5 separate regions of the Homo sapiens genome follow, and regions 1, 2, 3 and 4 are each linked to region 5. Evidence: promoter capture Hi-C in 16 types of primary human blood cells and fetal thymus (Javierre and others, 2016). All regions are on one chromosome and are shown on one strand. The core of a region is centred on a gene start or on the middle of the fragment in contact, and the rest is flanking DNA. Distances in the headings are between cores, read along the strand shown. Region 1 has its middle 6.4 kb from the start of FAM187B. Region 2 holds the start of LOC105372379 (a long non-coding RNA gene). Region 3 has its middle 6.1 kb from the start of LSR. Region 4 holds the start of ARHGAP33 (Rho GTPase activating protein 33). Region 5 holds the start of DMKN (dermokine).

Region 1 (2,772 bases), core at 58-2,557, 290 kb after region 5:
GAGACCTGAAGCGCCCACCCCAGGTCCCAGGGAGCCCCCCAATGCCTGCAACCCATAGAAGCCCCCATTGTATGGGAGCTGGAGGTGGGACAGAGAGAGTCAAGCACGGGTCCCACACTCAAGGGGTTTGTTCTTCGCAGCACTGAAGTCTCACAACCCATAGCAGAGGCTGTCAGTGCCCCAGTGCTCCAAGGCTGTCAGGGCAGCTCCTAAGGTGACCCCAGTGACTTCCCACCTCCTGGTGTCCATGCCTTGTATGATCCCCTCTCCTCCAGTGTGGACAGACCTGTGACCTTGCATCTAACCAATAGCACACAGTAAAGGTGTTGAGCTGTCACTCCCTAGCTTGCCTTATGTTATCTAAGACTCTGTCTTAGAAGATCAGAGGGAGGGAGCCTTGCTGGCTTGATGAAGTAAGCAGCCACATTGAGGAAGTCCACGTGGTAGGGAGCTGTGGGTGGCCTCCAGGAGATGCAAGTGGCCTCTAGGACCTGAGGGAGGCTCCCAGTTGACAGCAAGCAAAAGGCCAGGACCCTCAGTCACACAGCCAGAGAGAAACGAACTCTGCCAATAACCTGGATGAACTCAGAAGTAGATTCATCCCCAGTCGAGCCTCCAGATGAAAGTGCAGCCTGATCCGTGTCTGACAGCAGCCTTCTGAGACCTCAGATGGAGGGCTCAGCTAAGCTGTGCCTGGACTCCTGATCCACAGAAACTGTGAGATCATAGACGTGTGTTGTTTTAAGCCACTGAATTTCTGGCAATCTGCTTTGCAGCAACAGACAACAAATACACTCACCCATATCCCTGAAAAGACCTGGAAGTCCCCTGCAGCTTTAGCAGTCATGGGCATGATTCCAGTGGGTGCCAGGGGTTTCCTAACTCATACCAGAAGCCTGCTGGGCCACTCATGGAGCAGGCTAGAAGCTGGGCAGTTGACACCCCAGGAGCAGTCCTTAACCTCGAGGGATGGGAACGGGAGCACCCAGCTTCCTCACCCCTGTAAGGCACACTCTACACATCCTCTTGCAGGTCCCCAGGGGTAACATTCACAGGTGCTGGGGATTAGAGTGACATCTTTGGGAGGTGTTATTCAGCCTACCCCAAGCAGTTGCAGGCACAGGCAGCGTATATAAGGGCTCTGGGGCTGGGTGTCTACTTGGTGGACGGAGCTGATTAGGACAGGAAGGCAACTGTGGAGAGAACATCAAGGAGGTCACCAGGGCCGAGAGTGTGTGGGACTCTGTAGGCCAGGATAGCAGCTGTGGGCTTTATTTGAAATGAAATGGGAGCCACGTGAGGGTTTTGAGCAGTGGAGAGACATGACCTGATGTCCACTTAAAATGGCGATTCTCCTGAGGTCAGGAGTTCGAGACCAGCCTTGCCAACACTGTGAAAACCCATCTATACGAAAAATACAAAAATTAGCCAGGCGTGGTGGCGGAGCTGTAATTCCAGCACTTGGGAGGCTGAGACATGAGAATTGTTTGAACCCAGGAGGCAGAGGTTGCAGTGAGCCGAGATTGCGCCACTGTACTCCAGCCTGGCCAACAAAGATAGACTTCATCTCAAAAAAAAAAAAAAAAGTGATTCTGACAAGGTGGGGTTCCTTACAGGTAAGGGTGGGTTGCCCCCCAGGTTGCAGCAGGGAGTAGCAGCCGCTTTGCGTGTGGCCAGCTGTACAATAAGAAACTTTCCTCACCAAGCAGGAGACATGGTCAGGCCCAGCCTTGCCACCCTCCCCTGCACAACAGAGTACAGCGTAAGACAAAACACGCCCCAGATTCCATTTTTAACCATCCTATTCTTCCCTCTTCCTTTTCTTATTGTAATTTTTTAACTTCTTAGGCCTATGTTTTTGGGGAAAAAAATAATTGCTTATAAATGCAATTCCAGTACTTAGCCTTGCTATACGGCTCTTCTACTCTGCCAGAGAAAGAAAAGGAGAAAATATTCCCTTTCTTTCTAAAGCTGTCACCTTAGAACAAATTGTCTATATCACCTTAGAACAAATTGTCACCTTAGAACAAATTGTATAAAGGCCTGGTGAGTGGAGCATGGAGTGGGTTCCCCTCATCCCTTGGCTGGACATGTCGGGCAGTGCTCAACTTGTACAACTCCACATGACAACCCCGAATACAGATACTTTCTGCATCATAAAATTGTCTTGGCAGGCCAGGCACAGTGGCTCACATCTGTAATTCCAGCACTTTGAGAGGCTGAGGCAGGCAGATCACAAGGTCAGGAGTTCGAGACCAGCCTGGCCAGCATGGTGAAACCCTGCCTCTACTAAAAATACAAGAGTTGGCCAGGTGTGGTGGCATGTGCCTGTAATCCCTGCTACTGGGGAGGCTGAGGCAGGAGAATCACTTGAACCCAGGAGGTGGAGGTTGCAGTGAGCCGAGATTGCACCACTGCATTCCAGCCTGGGCAACAGAGCAAGTCTCCATTTCAAAAAAAAAAATTGTCTTGGCAAATCCTACTGCTATTGAAGGAGTCTCATTTGTTACTCTGTATTAGTCAGTATAGGATAGGCTCCACTGCAGCAATAAATACGCTCCAGAATAAAACACAGAGGTTTGTTTCCTGCTTACATTAGTATCAAGCAAAAGGGGTTTGCTGCCAGATGCACAACAAGCCAATACTATGGCATGAGGTTTTTGAGAAAATAAAAGCTTTATATTGCAGGTTAACTTCCAAGGAGACAGGAGTCCCACTGAAATCTGTCTCCCTATGCTGGCTTTAAGGCAGTAATTTTACCAGGAAAGGTTA
Region 2 (2,700 bases), core at 60-2,559, 310 kb after region 5:
ACACCACTTTCCCAATAGTTCCAGCAAAAGTCCTGCAGCTGTCTCTCATTGGCTTTACTTGGAATGGCGTGTTCATTTCTGGATCTGGGAAATGTAGTTGGCTGTGTCCGAATCACATAGACTAAGAGCAGGGGAGGCTGGTTCCCAAAGAAAATGAGAAGGGTAAACGAATGCCCGTCAGGCTAATCTCTCTCTTGTGTGTAGAGAGAGCCCCGGAGAGCATCAACCTGTCCTGTTTTACCATGAAGAGCATTCAAAAGCTAACAGGGTGATAGGGGTTTAGTAAGTTGGGAGTGGTCAGGGAGAGGTCTTGGAAGAGACAGTGTTGAAAGCAAAGCCTTGAGAGATAAGAAGTCAGTGTTTTAGGCGGCAGGACCTGTGAGGGCAAAACACCTGAGAAAAATCAATATTTGACAAATGAGTGGCTAAATGAATGAATGAATGAGTGAATGATTAAATGAATGAGTGGGTGAATGACTATAGACAGACACTGTAGACAAAGAGCCCCATCTTCTTGCTCAGAAGGACCCACCAGCCCCTGTAGTAATGGGAGAGCTGGAGTTGGGCTGCAGACCTTGCAGGGAAAATGGAGAGGGAGAGAAGGAGGAGGGGAGAGGAGGGAAGGAGGGAAAGAGCCACTCGGACTCCGCAGGAGCCAGGAGGAAGGGCCAGATGGACCCTACCTGGGAGACTACATCCAACGTTTCTCTCCTTGAGGGTCCTGGGCTGCCTGGAAACCCTCCCCTCTCCACAGCCTCCATTCCCTGCCCCTTCCCTCCCCCGCCTTACTCTCACTTCCTCTTTTCTGTTCCTCTTGCATACCAAGCTAGCTCTCGTCTCAGGCCTTTGTGCTTGCTGTTCCCTCTGCCTGGAACACCCTTCTCTAAGAACTTCACAGCCCTCAGGTCTCAGCCAAGAGTCCCCTCCACCAAGCAGCCCTCCCTGACCACCCCAACTGAATTACCCATCCCTCTACGCCCACAGCCTCTTCCAAATCACACCACCCTGCATACCTTCCTCTCTCTGAAAATGTCATGTTTGTGAATCTGTTGTGGTCACAGTTGTCACCCTGTCAGAGGCGTTTGAACCAGAGCAACCCCATCTTGAGTAGGGGCCAGGTAAAATGAGGCTGAGACTTACTGGGCTGCATCCCCAGATGGTTAAGGCATTCTGAGTCACAGGGTGAGATAGGAGGTCAACACAAGATGCAGGTCATAAAGACCTTGCTGATAAAACAGGATGCAATAAAGAAGCCAGATAATACCCATCAAAACCAAGATGGCCACGAGAGTGACCTCTGGTCGTCCTCACTGCTACACTCCCACCAGCGCCATGACAGTTTACAAATACCATGGCGATGTCGGGAAGTTACCCTCTATGGTCTAAAAAGGGGAGAAATGAATAATCCACCCCTTGTGTAGCATATCATCAAGAAATAACCATAAAAATGGGCAACCAGCAGTCCTCGGGGCTGCTCTGTCTATGGAGTAGCCATTCTTTATTCCTTTATTTTCCTAATAAACTTGCTTTCACTTTATGGACCTGCCCTGAATTCTCTCTTGTGGGAATCCAAGAACCCTCTCTTGGGGTCTGGATCGGGACTCCTTTCCTGTAACACTATTATTACTGACTTATGAATATTCTAGGGTTGTTGCGAAGTCTGGGTGCGAGTCAGGCACAGTGTTTACCTGCTTGGCCCTGCAGTGTCCAGCCAGGTTCGTGGCCTCCTGCCTCTGTGACCCTGTTCAAGTGACCTCCCTGCTCTGGGACTGTCTGTTCCCCCATAATATGGAGACCTCTATATTGCTCTTCTATACCTCATGTCTGTCTTTTACACACACACACACACACACACGTGTGTGTGCATGGCTGTGGTGCAGGTTTAATGACCTCATGCAGATGTCTAGAGCATGGTTCTAGGCAGAAAATGGAAAAGTATTTATAATATAATTAGTTCAACCAGCTACAATATAGACAGGGGTTTCCTGGCAGGCCATGTGACTTCAGTAATGGCCTGGGTCTGGCTTCGCCTTTAACCCTCTTCCTAGCCTCCCCTCAGCTCTCAAGGGTCAGCTAGGGGCCATCGCCCTGCATGTAGGGAGGCTGGACGGCAGAAAGCATGAACCCCATGATGCTCCCTGTCCTGCCCTGCCCATGCTGTCACCAAGTGGGGCAGCTAGACTGAAAGGGCTTCCACAACTCTGGGGTGGGCACCAACAGCCAGGGGAGCTGGAGATTGAAGGGTAACATTGCAGACTGGAATAGGAAGTTCCCTGGCCTCCAAGCCAGGCCTCACTAGGACTCTCCTGCCCTCAAATCTGGAAGCTCAGTGTCTTCACCCTTTAGGTCTCTGGGGGATAGGAGACAGAGACTTAGGAGGGTCCAGGGGAAAAGAATTTCCAAGTAATAACATGGAAAATAAAACAAAGCTACTAAACCAAAGGATATTGCTATCAACCACAGTAGCTTTCACACTTTTGTTGTTAACTGTAAGAGAGTCATTTGACATCACAACCTAGAATATATACTTTGAACCAAAAATAAAATCCTGAGCCCCCCAACTAACTAAGTGGACCCCCTTCTGGGCCAAAGGGACCCCAGAGACATCTGAACAACTGAATTCTAGCCATGAAGAAATGGGAGGTGCACATGCCTCATTCTAGCCCCTCCCTTCTGGAGTTTAGGCCCAACTGACCAACA
Region 3 (2,755 bases), core at 58-2,557, 270 kb after region 5:
ACTAACTCATGAAGCCATCTGGTTTAAGATTTTTCTTTGCTAGGTGGTTTAAAATTAGTGGTATTGCCACTTTCATTTCTGATTTTAGTTATTTGCGTCTTCTCTCTTTGGTGCTTCATCAGTCTCACCAAAGGTTTGCCAATTTTGTTAATCTTTTCAAAAAACCAACTTTTGGTTTTACAGATTTTTTTGTCTATTCTCTTTCTCTATTTTATGAGTTTCTGCTCTAGTCTCTATTATTTCCTTTCTTCTGCTGGCTTTGGGTTTTGTTTGCTCTACTTTTTCTAGTTCCATAAGATGTAAGTCAGGTTATTAATTTGAGATAGTTATTCTTTTTACATGGGCATTAATAGCTATTAATTTCCCTCTGAGCACTGTTTTTGGGGCATCTCATAAGTTTGGTATATTTTGTTTTCTTTCCTACTTGTCCCTAAGTATTTTCTGATTTCCTTTGTGATTTCTTCTTTGACCTGTTGGTTGTTTAAGAGAATGTTGTTTAATTTTCACATATTTGTGAATTTTCATTTTTCCTTCTATTATTGATTTCTAACTTTATCTTGTTGTGATCAAAGAAAAGAGTTCGTTTGATAGGTATTTTAAAATCTACTGAGATTTAACTTATGCCTCAACATGTCATCTATCATAGAGAATGTCTCATGTGTACTTGGATTTTTTTTTTAATTGGGTGAGTGTTCCATATGTATCTGTTAGGTCTAGTTGGTTTTTGTGTTGTTCAAGTCCACTATATTTTTACTTACTTTCTGTCTGTGTGTTCTATCCATTATTGAAAGTGGGATTTTGAACTCTCCAACTATTATGGTAGAACTGTGTATTTCTCCTTTGAGTCTATCAATTTTTGCTTTATATTTTGAGGTCTGTTATTAGGTGCAGAAATGTTTATAACTGTTACATCTTATTGAGATATTTAACTTTTTATTAATTTGTAATGTCTGTCTTGTCTCTTGTAAATTGTTTTGATTTAAAGTCTATTTTGTCTGATATTCGCATAGCCACTCAAGCTATCTTTTGGTTACTGTTTGCATGGAATATCATTTTCCATATCTTTTGCTTTGAACATATTCGTGCCTTTGGATCTAACATGAATCCTTTATAGACAGCGTATTGTTGGGTGGTTTTTAAAAATACATTCTGGAAATCTCCATCTTGATTTAAAGAAATGACTATCAGCAAAATTACTGCCATTTTGCTACTTGTTTTCTATATACCTTATGGCTTTTTGTCCCTCATTTTCTCCATTACTGTTTATGTTTAATTTTTTTTTTGTAGCGAAATGTTTTGATTCTCTTTTCATTTCCAGTTGTGTATATTTTGTAGCTTTTTATTTTGTGGTTATAGAGGAGATTATATTATATATAAAACCTAAAATTATAATACTCCAATTTACATTTATACCAGCTTAATTTCGATAGTATATATATAAACTCTGCTCTTATATAGCTCTGTCACTCCTTTTCCTTTTTCTTTCTTTTTTTTTTTTTTTGAGATGGAGCCTTGCTCTGTCACCCAGGCTGGAGTGCAATGGTGCAATCTTGGCTCACTGCAGCCTCTGCCACCTGGGTTCAAGCAATTCTGCTGCCTCTGCCGCCCCAGTAGCTGGGATTACAGGTGTCTGCCACCATGCTCGGCTAATTTTATTTTTCTATTTTTAGTAGAGATGAGATTTCGCCATGTTGGCCAGGCTGCTCTTGAACTCCTGACCTCAGGTACCTCAAGTGATCCACCTGCCTCTGCCTCCCAAAGTGCTGGGATTACAGGCATGAGCCACCATACCTGGCCTCTGTCATTCCTTTTCTGTTGTCAGTGTCACAAATCACACCTATATACATTGTTTTCCCAATAATGAAGATTAATAATTGTTTTCATCCATTTTATTTTATATCATGTAGACAATAAAAAGTGAAATTATAAACTCAAATTATGATAACAGTAGCTTTTATAATTGCTCATGTATTTACCTTTAGCAGAGATTTTAATTTTTTTCTTCATGTCTTCAAATTACTGTCTGCACTCTTTCATTTCAACCTGAAGGACTTCGTTTAGCATTTCTAGTAGGGAAGGACTAGTGGTAATGAACTCCCTCAGCTTTTGTTTATCCAGGAATATCTGAACTTCTTCCTCATTGTTGGAGGATAGATTGGGTAGCTATAGAATTCTTGGTTGATAGGTCTTTTTTTTCTTCTTCTTCTTTTGGCATGTCAAGTGTATTAACCCACTGCCTTTGGCATCCAAGGTTTCTAATGATAAATCTGCCAATAATCTTATTGAGGATTTCTTGAATGTAACAAGTTGCTTCTCTCTTGCTGCTTTCAAGATTGTTTCTTTGGCTTTGGCTTTTTACAGTTTGATTATAATGTGTCTCAGCTTGAATCTCTGGGTTTTTCATACTTGGAGTTTATTGAGTTTTTAGATTTGTTGATTCATGTCTATCATCAAATTTGGGAAGTTTTCAATCTTATTTCTTAAAATTACAATTCTTTCTTCCTCTTTTTCTCTCTCTTCTCCTTCTGGACCTCCCATAATATGTATGTTGGTCTCCTCTGTGGTGTCCCACAGATCCTTTAGGCTCTGTTCAGCTTTCTTTAATCTTTTTTCTTCCTGTCCCTCAGACTCAATAAATTTTCCTGTCACCAAGTTTGCTGATTTTTCTTCTGCCTGCTCAAATCTGTTTTTGAGCCCCTTCAGTGAATTTTTTATTTCAGTTAATTGTATTTTTAGCTCCAGAATTTTCCTTTTG
Region 4 (2,700 bases), core at 139-2,638, 260 kb before region 5:
ATCCTCACTCCCACCCCTCAGGTCCCAACTCACATGTGCCCTCCTCCAGGAAGTTCTCCCTGACCCTTCAGGCTGCACCTGGCATCTCCTCTGGACTCTCTCCATCCCCTGAGGTTCCCCCATCCCAGGTTCCATGCCTTGACCAGAGCTTCTCCCTTCACAGCTCTGATCACTCTGAGATGGCACTGGTGGTGACAAGTTCATCTCTCTCATTGGACTATGACCGGCCTCCCAGAAGGAGGGCCCCAGACTGAGCTCCCCAGCATAGAGCTGGGCATTGAGTTGGTGTTCAGACATGATTGTTCCTGATTCTTTTCTGGGTCCCCAGTGCCAGCCCAGTCGCGCGCAGCAGGGACTGGGTAAAATCTGATGAATAAATTAACCAGCTGCCAGACAGATTCACTGGGCTGTAGCGTCTCCCTGCTCCATGTCCCTGCAACCCCCAGTCACCCTCAGGGTCTCACCCTCAGGGTCTGTCCCCCTCCAGCCCATAAGGTTCCCCAAGGCAGGATGGGAGCTGACTCTCTCTGTGCCTGGAGCGTGGGGCCTGCACAGAGGCGGTCTCAGTGAATGTCTGCTAAGTGAGGGAATGAATGGATGAATGAGCGGGAGCAGCATGGTGGGAGAGGGAAATGGTGGGGGAGGGGGATGAGGACAAGGAGATGGAGCAGACCCGAGGATCAAGGGAGGTACAGTGCTGGCCTGTTGGGGTGGAGTAAGGAAGGAGTGGCTGGAGAGACGAGGCAAAGGCTCAGACTGATGCGGGGCGGGGGGGATTGAGAGGAACTGGGATAGGGTGAAAATGAGGGAGAAGGAGAAGAAAAGGGTCAGGCTGGGGATGGAGCGGGTGGGGGGTGGGGCTCGGGAATGAGAAAGGGGCTGTGGGGAGGAGGAGGGGGCTCCGCCGGGGAGGGCTGAGGGCTGGCAGAAGGATGCCGAGGAAGGTGCTGGGATGGGAGCTGGGGAAGGACCCAGGAGCCTCAGGAGGCCCCTGCAGGGGCCACTTGGGTGGCGCGGGTCCCTTCCTGGACTAGCCCCGCCTCCTCCCAGCCCAGGCCCTAGGTCCCTGTCACCCCATCCAGGGCGTGGAAGACGGGGATGCGCGCTTAGGGGGCGGGGTCGAGGTACGGGCTGGGACCCGGGATGGGGCCGCAGGACGGGAGGGACCACGGCTGAAGCACAGGCCGCGGGATCGGGCGGGGCCGGGGGCGGGGCGCGCGGGGCGGGGCTGCGCACGGACAGACTGACATCCGGACGGACAGGCTGACGGCCGCGTGGGACCCTTACCACCATGGTCGCGTAGCCTCCTCAGGCCCCGGCCGCGCTCGACCCCTCGCTCGCCGTTCTCGTCGCCGCTGCCGCCGCCATGGCGACACAAAGGGGAGGGCGCGAGCCGCGCGCGGGCGGCTGCAGACCCCGCCCCTAACGGCTGCCCGTGGCTCCGGCGCGCGCCCCACGGGGGCGGGGGGCAGCGGGAACGCGGCGCTGCTTCTCATTGGCTCCGCCCTTGGCCTTAGGCCGATGCCCCGCCCACCCGGAGGCTTCTCATTGGTTTCACCTTGGGCTCCGCCCCGGCTCTGTGTCCTCGGTCCCGCCCCTCGAAGTTTGACAGCGCCACGCCCATGACTGCTTTTCATTGGCTGTCATCGCCCTCCTGAGACAAGCCCCCAGGTTCTTTATGCTTTGCTTCCGACACTTCCAACACCAAGCAATGGACCCTACCTTTCGTCCACTCCCAGTGTCCATTCTTCTGACTTTTTTATTTTTATTTCTTTAAGAGACAGGGTCTCACTCTGTCGCCCAGGCTGGAGCGCAGTCCTGCAATCGTGGCTTACTGCAGCCTCAACCTCCTGGGCTCAAGCGATACCTCCCATGTAGCTGGGACTACAGGCGTGCGCTACCACGCCTGGCTAATTTTTTTTAGACATGGGGGTCTCACTATGTTACCCAGGATGGTCTTGATCTCTGGGGCTCAAGAGATACTCCCTCCTCAGCCTCCTTTCAAAGCGCTGGGATGACAGGCGTGAGCCACCACGCCAGCCAGCCCCTGATAGTCTTAATTGGATTCTCCCACGGCCTCAGAGCAGTGCCCAGTTCCTTAAGCAGCTTTTCAAAGTCCCAGTCCCAAGTCTCACCTTTTCAGTCCTGATCCCGACCCCGCTCACATAATGCCGAGGACGCTCCGCCCATGGACGTTTCTCGTTGCCTCATATACCTTGCCTAGGACGTAACCCGAGGCTTTCTGCGATTTGGCCTCCCCTGCCCACTGGACATTTTCTTGTTTCCCCTTCTACTGCTTATTACGGGCCAATCTCCAGCCTTGATTTTTTTTTTCTAGGAAAATGCTTAGGGGGAAATGCCAGATCATGCTTATGCCCCCCATAAAGCCATTCCCAATGGAGCCTGCTAATACTGAGCATGCCCAGATAACACTGTAATAACGCCCTTCACAGGAGGGTCTCTCCTTAGTCATGCCCTCAACAAATTCTCATCTCAGAGGGTCTTGGTCTGTTCATTCATTCATTCATTCATTCATTCACTCAAACTCTAATCAATTTGTACATACATCAACAACCAAACCAGGAGAAAATATACCCTGCCCACATTGGAGCTCAAAAGCTACTGGGAGAAGACAATGAACAAAATTAACATTAAACAAAATATAGAATATTAGGCCAGGCGTGGTGGCTCACGCCTGTA
Region 5 (2,700 bases), core at 64-2,563:
TATTACCACCATCGCTATTATCATCATTAACGAGTCAGAGATGGAATAACAGGGAAGTAGGAGCTGAGGAGGACAGATGGGGATAGTGTTTACAAGGTAAGAAGTGTTGGATGTTATAAGCTGGGGTGCGGATATTGGGGTGGAGAGAAGAGAGAGACTGACTGAGAGACATTGAGAAAGGCTGATGGAAACTGGCCCCTCCTAACTGGGCGATGAACCCCAGTGATACGAAACAGTGGGAGGCCCTGTGGCCCCTGGGAATAGAGAAGCAGCCACACTTGCTGGGCAGGGGTGAGGCGGGGGGAGGCTCCCAGGTTCTGTATCCCGAGCTGGGACTGGGGAGAGGGCCGTGGCTCTCACGGATGGCTCCTGACCTTGCGCTACCCTCTTCTCGCTTGCCATTGCTGCCCTGGCCCCTGGCCTGGGGGATGGGTGGGGTGAGCTGGCCCAGTCCCGCCCCTCATAGGCGCTTATACTCACACGTGCCCCTCTAGGGCTGCGTAAACAGGATGGGTGCCTGGGTCAGCGGCTCCCTCCCTTGGCCTTCCCTCCCACTCGTTCCCTGGGGGTGGCTGGCGCGCCTGGCTGCCCTGCTCCGCGCCCAGCTTTCTCAGCCGGGAGCAGCCTGAACGCTGAGACACCCTGCTGACCACTCAAAGGGCTATGGCCACCTCCTTCCCCGACACCGAGGGTCCCCCCGGGGGCTCTCCCCAGAATCTCAGAAACTGACACGCAGCCCCGTGTTTGCCAGTCTCTCTCTGTGGGCTGGAAGGTGTGGAGGAACAAGAAGGCAGTCACCTGTAGGTGGCAATGCGGGAGGGGAGAGGGAGAGGAGAGGCTGAGGTGCTGAAACCGAGAAAGGCCAGGCCGAGGACGGGCAATGCCTGTCACTCTGGAGCCCCTGAGCCAGGCTGGCTGAGCCTGGGTGGGTCCTGTCCCCTGGGGCTTCCCTGTCCTTACTCCTTTGGTGGGGTCCTGCCAGTAACTCCTCTCTTCTAAGTCTGCCCCCACCCCACCGCCTCCAGGAGCCAACGACAACCTGTCTCCTTAGATGCCCCTGCCCCCACCCAGCTCCCCGAATGCCTGGGGTTGGGAAATGGGAGCACTTTTGCATCACCTCATCCATTTCTCCCTCCCTCCCTGATGCGGCTCACTCTCTGTTTCGACAGAGACTCTCAGACTCACAATAACAGCTGATTACCCTATTGGTGGCTGGGCCCTGAGTCACTGCGGGGAGGGACCTCAGGTTGCCCAGCCCTGTCACCTTCTCCCAACCTAGAGTATAAGGAGTAGTGACAGGGAGGTGGACTCTGAGAAGCCCAGGCAGTTGAGGACAGGAGAGAGAAGGCTGCAGACCCAGAGGGAGGGAGGACAGGGAGTCGGAAGGAGGAGGACAGAGGAGGGCACAGAGACGCAGAGCAAGGGCGGCAAGGAGGAGACCCTGGTGGGAGGAAGACACTCTGGAGAGAGAGGGGGCTGGGCAGAGATGAAGTTCCAGGGGCCCCTGGCCTGCCTCCTGCTGGCCCTCTGCCTGGGCAGTGGGGAGGCTGGCCCCCTGCAGAGCGGAGAGGAAAGCACTGGGACAAATATTGGGGAGGCCCTTGGACATGGCCTGGGAGACGCCCTGAGCGAAGGGGTGGGAAAGGCCATTGGCAAAGAGGCCGGAGGGGCAGCTGGCTCTAAAGTCAGTGAGGCCCTTGGCCAAGGGACCAGAGAAGCAGTTGGCACTGGAGTCAGGCAGGTTCCAGGCTTTGGCGTAGCAGATGCTTTGGGCAACAGGGTCGGGGAAGCAGCCCATGCTCTGGGAAACACTGGGCACGAGATTGGCAGACAGGCAGAAGATGTCATTCGACACGGAGCAGATGCTGTCCGCGGCTCCTGGCAGGGGGTGCCTGGCCACAATGGTGCTTGGGTGAGTGGCTGTGGGGCTGCATGTGGAAATGGGAGGCTGTGGGCTGCTGGGCTGAGATTCTTGGGAAACGGTTGAAAGGATGGATGGATCTCTTACTTGCAGGCTTCTGGGGCAGCTTCCTTCTATGTTCTGCCCCCCTCCTATGCCACCCTGGAGTCCCTCTGCCTGTCTCTCTCCTGGTCTCTTTATGATTTGCCCTGGCTCTTCTCTACCAGGGTCAGAGATGGTCCCACTAAGTGCAGGTATGTTGTTCTTGCAGGAAACTTCTGGAGGCCATGGCATCTTTGGCTCTCAAGGTGGCCTTGGAGGCCAGGGCCAGGGCAATCCTGGAGGTCTGGGGACTCCGTGGGTCCACGGATACCCCGGAAACTCAGCAGGCAGCTTTGGAATGAATCCTCAGGGAGCTCCCTGGGGTCAAGGAGGCAATGGAGGGCCACCAAACTTTGGGACCAACACTCAGGTAAAGTCACCCCCAGACCTGCTACCTGCCACCTCCCTCCCTCCAAGCCCACATGCTCCGCGTGCCTCCCTGGTCCCTCTGGATCCTACTCTCAGTCTCACCCTCTCTGCAGGGAGCTGTGGCCCAGCCTGGCTATGGTTCAGTGAGAGCCAGCAACCAGAATGAAGGGGTAAGAGGAAGGGGCTGGGAACAAATGAAGAAGCCACTGGGTGCAGGCTACAGAGAGCTGGGGAAAGACAAAGAGGAAAGCAAGATGGGGGAGTGGAGGGATTGGGGTGAGAGGAAGAGATGGGGCTGGGCGAGGTGGCTCACACCTGTAATCCCAGCA

Evidence for each region. The method cuts DNA at HindIII sites, captures the fragments that hold promoters and counts their contacts. A CHiCAGO score of 5 or more calls a contact.
Region 1: a fragment that was not itself captured here is called in contact with the fragment with the promoter of DMKN in region 5 in 4 of 17 cell types (monocytes, total B cells, activated CD4 T cells and 1 more); the score reaches 6.0 in monocytes.
Region 2: a fragment that was not itself captured here is called in contact with the fragment with the promoter of DMKN in region 5 in 3 of 17 cell types (monocytes, neutrophils and naive B cells); the score reaches 7.5 in monocytes.
Region 3: a contact is called between a fragment that was not itself captured here and the fragment with the promoter of DMKN in region 5, in 7 of 17 cell types (monocytes, naive B cells, total B cells and 4 more). The highest score is 11.6, in monocytes.
Region 4: a contact is called between the fragment with the promoter of ARHGAP33 here and the fragment with the promoter of DMKN in region 5, in 2 of 17 cell types (neutrophils and erythroblasts). The highest score is 5.1, in neutrophils.

Annotation. Positions count from the first base shown.
Region 1 is chr19:35,220,944-35,223,715 of GRCh38, reverse strand. No RefSeq gene overlaps it. Among named protein-coding and RNA genes, the nearest start is that of FAM187B, 6.4 kb to the left of the region's middle. The HindIII fragment of the contact is 2,741 bases long and covers 1-2,677 here.
Region 2 is chr19:35,203,590-35,206,289 of GRCh38, reverse strand. It overlaps LOC105372379 (a long non-coding RNA gene), which reads right to left and starts at 1,169. Exons shown (of 3, transcript XR_935938.2): 1 at 1,014-1,169; 2 at 1-137. RefSeq lists enhancers at 510-679, 1,655-2,172, 2,173-2,690, 2,691-2,700. The HindIII fragment of the contact is 3,198 bases long and covers 1-2,700 here.
Region 3 is chr19:35,241,496-35,244,250 of GRCh38, reverse strand. No RefSeq gene overlaps it. Among named protein-coding and RNA genes, the nearest start is that of LSR, 6.1 kb to the left of the region's middle. The HindIII fragment of the contact is 3,634 bases long and covers 1-2,755 here.
Region 4 is chr19:35,774,252-35,776,951 of GRCh38, reverse strand. It overlaps ARHGAP33 (Rho GTPase activating protein 33), which reads right to left and starts at 1,388. Exons shown (of 21, transcript NM_001366178.1): 1 at 1,288-1,388. The coding sequence starts at 1,293. RefSeq lists a silencer at 1,127-1,606 and an enhancer at 1,837-1,896. The HindIII fragment of the contact is 37,765 bases long and covers 1-2,700 here.
Region 5 is chr19:35,512,262-35,514,961 of GRCh38, reverse strand. DMKN (dermokine) reads left to right here and starts at 1,313. Exons shown (of 16, transcript NM_033317.5): 1 at 1,313-1,912; 2 at 2,172-2,372; 3 at 2,485-2,541. The coding sequence starts at 1,487. The HindIII fragment of the contact is 13,607 bases long and covers 1-2,700 here.